2 separate regions of the Homo sapiens genome follow, and region 1 is linked to region 2. The links are contacts of gene promoters, found by promoter capture Hi-C in human tissues and cell types (Jung and others, 2019). All regions are on one chromosome and are shown on one strand. Each heading gives the region's core, a stretch centred on a gene start or on the middle of the fragment in contact. The rest is flanking DNA. Distances are from core to core; before and after follow the strand shown.

Region 1 (2,704 bases), core at 51-2,550, 67 kb before region 2:
TTTTATTTTCTTATATTAATAAAACTATTTCCATTCAGAAAAATAGACTGCAATGCAATCCATTTTCTTTCCACATTCTGCAAAGCATTTTGATATTTGTATAAAGGCAGTCTGGATTTACCCATTACAATAGTACTCTGTTTTACTCCCCAGAACTATTGCAACCAGGCACTGTCACCCATGTATTTTGTCAATGGTGGTTTAGGAAAATCAAAGGGTCCCAATTCTTGCCAATGAGAAGGCAAGTCTGCCACAAGATTTCTGGGAAAGGTTTTTTCCCATCTTAAAAAAAAAGATGGTACTATTTTGTTTTGTTTTGTTTTGTTTTTACTTTTGAGACAGGGTCTCACTCTATCACCCAGACTGCAGTGCAGTGGCATGATAATAGCTCACTGCAGCCTTGAATTCCTGGGCTCAAGGGATCCTCTCACCTCTGCCTCCTGAGTAGCTGGGACTACAGGTATATGCCACACTGCTCAGCTAATTTTTAAAAATTTTTCGTAAAGATGACCTCTCACTTTCTTGCCCAGGCTGGTCTCAAACTCCTGGGCTCAATAGATCCTCCTGCCTCAGCCTCCTGAGTAGCTGGGATTACAGGCATGAGCTACCACACCCAGTAGTACTATTCTTATAGCTGAAAGTGGTATCTGCTGCTAACAGCCAGAGGATGGGGCCACCACAGAATGTCAGAGACTAGCGATGAACTCCCATCCACAAAAAGAACACTTAACATGAGTCTGGAATGACATTATTGAGCTTCTAGTCTGTATCAATCACCTCTGGCATCAAAACTACATGAACATCCACTTAAAAGAGATTCTAAACGTCCTTCTTTTTCAAGTAAGCTTGTATTGAAATTTTCTGTTTGCATCCAACATTGTTCTACCTAATGCACCAATGTAACAAAATGTCCATTTAAATTAGTTAACTGATCAAGGAGTCCATGTTACAAATTTCAGTAACTACAATTTTGTAAAACACAAAAACTAGACAATAATTTGAACACTATATATAACTTTCATTACATTTTTATTTTATAAAATAAAAATTTACCCAATATAAAAACGTTTTTACTCAAAAGCATACCAAATTTTCCCCATTTTTCCCCAAGATCAATTAAACAGAAATTTTTCTGTGTGAATCAAATCTTTTAAATAAAATTCTTATTTGCCTTATTTCACAAGTAAATGTTTTCATTCTCTCAGACAAAATTAATTCTCTAAATGTCATATAGACAGTAAAAATGAGTTCTCATTTTATAATTTCTTTATTCAAATGAGCTTTTTAGAAAATAACCAGAATGTTTAAAAACAGATCAGTTCAAATAGCATAAGGATACACTACCTTAGTGTCTGCATTTGGGGCTAAACCATGAAGTGGTTCAAGTTTGGAAGCTCCATAAGTGATTAAGATACTTGCTCTGTTCACATGCTCACAGTGCAGTAAATAAATGAGACACTGAAGAGACAAGAACCATATAATAAGTGCTACCACAGAACTGTGTACCAGCACAAAGAAGCATCTGATTAACAGGTGAATTCATGGAGAAGGAAAAAGTTACGGTGGGGAAGGTTTCCTTAGCTTCCTCCTGAATGGATGCATGGGAAAGTGCTGGCAATGATCAGGCTAATTAGAATTAAGTGGTAAATTCGTGCATCAAAACTCAGACAAAAATGTTAGTATCTTTAAATGCTTGAATTAGATCAATTAAACATTTCATTTTACTTCATTATAATTCTGAAAGAAATTTAAACACCAAATAAGGCTTTAAACTCTAAAAACTAAAAGGATAGTGGCTGGGCACGGTGGCTCATGCCTGTAATCCCAGCACTTTGGGAGGCCAAGGCGGGTGGATCGCAAGGTCAGGAGATTGAGACCATCCTGGCTAACACGGTGAAACCCCGTCTCTACTAAAAATACAAAAATTAGCCAGGCGTGGTGGCAGGCACCTGTAGTCCCAGCTACTTGGGAGGCTGAGGCAGGAGAGTGGTGTGAACCAAGGAGACGGAGCTTGCAGTGAGCCAAAATCATGCCACTGCACTGCAGCCTGGGCGACAGAGCGAGACTCCATCTCAAATAAAAAAAAAAAAACCAAAAGGATACTAAAAACTATTCTTCAATCTGTAGGCTGCTCAGACAGGCATATCTAACCTTTTCTCTATTCCATATCTCAGTCAGAAAACAGCCCTGGTAAATATATGTATGGTTACATCTTTGCCTTATAGAGAGGTTAGGCTGTGTGTGCAGTAGAGGGCTTAGTATGCAATCCTGGTTCTTTTTCTTCATAAACTGTGACCATTAATTCCTTCTCCTCTGCTAGTTGTCTCTCAGAATCACTTTCCAGACACTGGCTCCTCCAAAATGAGGGCACAGCTCCCCAAAACATAGATCCGAACACCAGCTTTGCCCCCAGCCTTTTCTCATAACTCATACATATCCACCCACAGAAATGTGGCAGCCCACCAGGAGAGAAGCATGGTAGTGAACCAAGCTAACTTTCTACCACATCCGTTCTCCCACTGACCCCTCAAAAGCAAAGGAGCCCTTCTCTGCCCACTTCCATTCTAGCTTTAACCAAAATTTTGGAAAGCAGTTTTATCTCAGAACTCTTTTACACCTTCTGTCACTCTTTGGTGAGGTTAATTTAGAATATGAAGTGAGAAAGAGCACCTCAAGCTCATTAACAAATGATTTCAATATATTT
Region 2 (3,061 bases), core at 204-2,703:
CCCTCTCATTTCCAGTGGAGCCTTTTATGTTTCTTTGCAGAACTCAAGAACCTTTTCTCAGGTGGCTCTGCTTTGCTGCAGGTAAGTTTGGTATTAACACATTTTCTTTATCTGTTGGAGGTAGTGAAACGGCTCTCTTCCTCCGTTGTCTTTCACTGGCACCTTTGTGGCCGCTCGTAGTCACTGACCTCACCTTGCTGGAAAGGTGGCTAAGAAAAGAGCAGTTTCTAATAACTCAAGGGAACTGCAGCGTTTCCATTCAGAACAAACAGCAGGACCCAGCTGGAGGGGTGCAGCTCTAAAGAAGTAAGACCCGCACCACAGCGGACAACTTCCAGAGGCTCTTCTCCAACACCGCCAAACACAGGCGGAAACACGGAGCCTGGACAGAAAGAGGGACGAGCAGAGAGATGGGCGCAGAGAGCAAGAGACAGGGGAGCCAGGAAGACCGGGAGCGAAAGCCTCTTGAGAGAGAGAGAGAGACCAAAAGATTGTGCGAAAGTGACAGAGGGAAGAGGATGAAGGGACAGAGGAGGGACACACTGGGAGAGCCAGAGCAGGCGGTGGGGAGAGGGAGACAGACGCACGGAAGGAAAGAGAGACCGGGGGGAGAGGCAAAGGATAGCAATAAGGAGAGGAAGGGAGAAAGGAAGAAAAGGGAGAGAATGAAAGACCCAGAACTTGAGAGAGAGGCATAGAGAGAGAGAAGCAGGAGAGAGAGGAGAAGAGACAGGCAACTGAAGCAGAGACGGAGCCCAGTCCAAGGCGCCGGGACCAGCCCGCTGCGCACTTTCCCCCACGGCAAGGCTGGGTCTCGGGAGGCGTCCGGGGCAGGTGGGTGCCTGCGGGTCCCGCCTGGGCTGGCCCTGGGCCCCCGCCCCGCCGGGCTCCCTCCCATTTCCCGGATTCCGCGACTGCCCTCAGCTCGCCCTCCCGCCCCATCCCTCCGCTCGCAGGTCCGACTCCCTGCCTTGGGGCGTCCCTACAGCCCGAAGCACGTGTCCCGCCCGCCGCCGCCGCTGCCCCGACTCCTCGCCTGCGCAGGCACGAGGCCTCGGGGTCCCGGCAGAGCCGCCCGCGCACAAAGCCGAGGCGGCCACCGCCTGACCCCCTCCCCGCCGCCGCCACCGCCCCACGGCCGCGCAGCCCGCCCTCGCTCTCGCCCTCTCCCTCGCGCGCTCCGTCCTGCCTAGGGCGACCGCCGCCCAGCTCCGCACCCAGCCGCTACCCGTCCCGCGCCGCCCCTCGCTCTGCCCGGCTCTCGCCGGCTCGGCCGCCTCCCGCGCGCTCGGGAACTCGGCCACCCGCAGGGGACGGGGCCCCGCCGCGCGCGCCTTACCCGCGGCTGCGCTCCCGGCTCCCGCGTCCTCAGCGCCGCGGTCTCCGCACTGCCCGGCGTCCCGCGAGGCCCCGCCGACTCCGCGCCCCGCGCCCGGCTGCGCCGTCAACTTCTGGCCGCCGCGGCCGCTCCGCCGCCGCCGCCGCCGCCACCGCGGGACTTTTTTTTTTTTTTTTTTTTTTTTTCCCTCTCGCTCCTCGGCTGCCTCTGGAATTTTTTTTTTTCACTTGCCCTCTCCAGCTCCCACTAGTGATTGGAGACTGAGAGCCAAGTACTTAGCGGAGGGATTACACTTCTCAACGCACTTGGAGCGGCCCCAGCGCCGCCGCCTGTGTGCGGAGTGCGGAGCCGACTTGGGGAGCGGCGGGGTGCGGGCCGGAGGCAGCCCGGGTACAGGGGTGCGCTTCCCAAGCCCCGTCCGCTGCTCAGAGCATCCCCAAGATTTCCCTCATGGGTCCTGTCCTGGTTGTTTAAGAAGGTTTCCAGAAAACCTCCTGGTTTGAAGAACAAAGATTCGTGGAATTATTGTACCTTGAGAGCTGGAAAGGGCTCGCAGAGATGATATAATGTCGTGGATTTCAACTTTTCGGGGCCATAGACACTTTTCAGAAATTGATAAAACGTTGACACACCTTGTAAAAAATGAACACATTAAAATTAAGCCTGCAGTTTGAGGTGGGGGTTTTAAGAATCTTGAAATATATACAGTTGAGCGTCCAAGGGAAATGAAATATTTCCCTTCTACATATTTTTTGAAACCGTTAAACGAAAACAACCACCAAAAAATTAAAAATAAAAAAATAAAACCCAAAAGAGAAAACCCATTCCATTTGTATTTGATGACAGTTTACAGTTAGTCGTGTTTCTTTTGGAAAAGTATGTAACGTCTTATACTTTGTGGTCTCCTTGCTAAGTCTTTAAGTGTTGAAACACTTTCTAAGTGGGTAAATATAAAGTAAGCTAGTTCACAGTCAGAAATTTGGGGAGAATAGTTAACCTCTTTAAAATCAGCCATTTTGCCAACTCTATTTCCCAGGGAGATATCTCGTGACTTCCAAATACTCTTTTCCTTTCAATACCTTTCAGCTTCCCACTCTCCAGCATTACTTATTTTCTCCTTCTGTAAAATTTTTTTCCTCCAAAATATTGACAAACAGTCTCTGGTCACCACCAAGTGTGTGATCTAAGTCATTTTTTTTTTTAACAGTTTTTCACCCTGAAGTAACTTTCTTCCAATTTTCTTCATATCTATTTCTATATTCAATTCTTAGCCTACTATTTTCTTTCAACTACTCCCTTTTCTTAAATTGTTTCTATTAAATCTTTTTTAAACATTAAATGTAATCTTTTTGCACTTATCAATAAAAAATTCATTTGTGTATCAATTTATTTTATGCAGCTTGCACTTAAAGCAGGCGGTGCCCCCAGTGTTTATTGAGTGTATGAAGATGTGGTCATGTTTTTTCTATAAAAGCAATGTTAGAGTCTCCACAAAGGTCTTTTTGCCCCATGATATATCTGCATTGTGATTTCTAATGCCAAACTGGAAGAAGAAAGGTATCTGAAAGAAAATTTCCAAAACAAGTGAAATTAGTCATTGACATCATCTGACCTTCCTTATTCAACCACTGTTCCAGTCCCCAGTACCAGTACTCATCCTCTTGCCCCAAGAATTCCAAGATAAAATCCATTCATTTTACTCTCATCCCAATTCTTCTCTGA

Evidence for each region. Contacts are between HindIII fragments. The study calls those that stand out against the background at their distance.
Region 1: a contact is called between a fragment that was not itself captured here and the fragment with the promoter of BMPR1B in region 2, in 2 of the 25 tissues and cell types used here (dorsolateral prefrontal cortex and mesenchymal stem cells).

The regions. Positions count from the first base shown.
Region 1 is chr4:94,823,136-94,825,839 of GRCh38, reverse strand. All of the region lies in intron 1 of BMPR1B (bone morphogenetic protein receptor type 1B), which reads right to left. Among named protein-coding and RNA genes, the nearest start is that of BMPR1B, 67 kb to the right of the region's middle. The HindIII fragment of the contact is 5,155 bases long and covers 1-2,704 here.
Region 2 is chr4:94,756,347-94,759,407 of GRCh38, reverse strand. It overlaps BMPR1B (bone morphogenetic protein receptor type 1B), which reads right to left and starts at 1,453. Exons shown (of 13, transcript NM_001203.3): 1 at 1,340-1,453. It overlaps BMPR1B-DT (BMPR1B divergent transcript), which reads left to right and starts at 1,875. Exons shown (of 3, transcript NR_121610.1): 1 at 1,875-2,014. The HindIII fragment of the contact is 6,502 bases long and covers 1-3,061 here.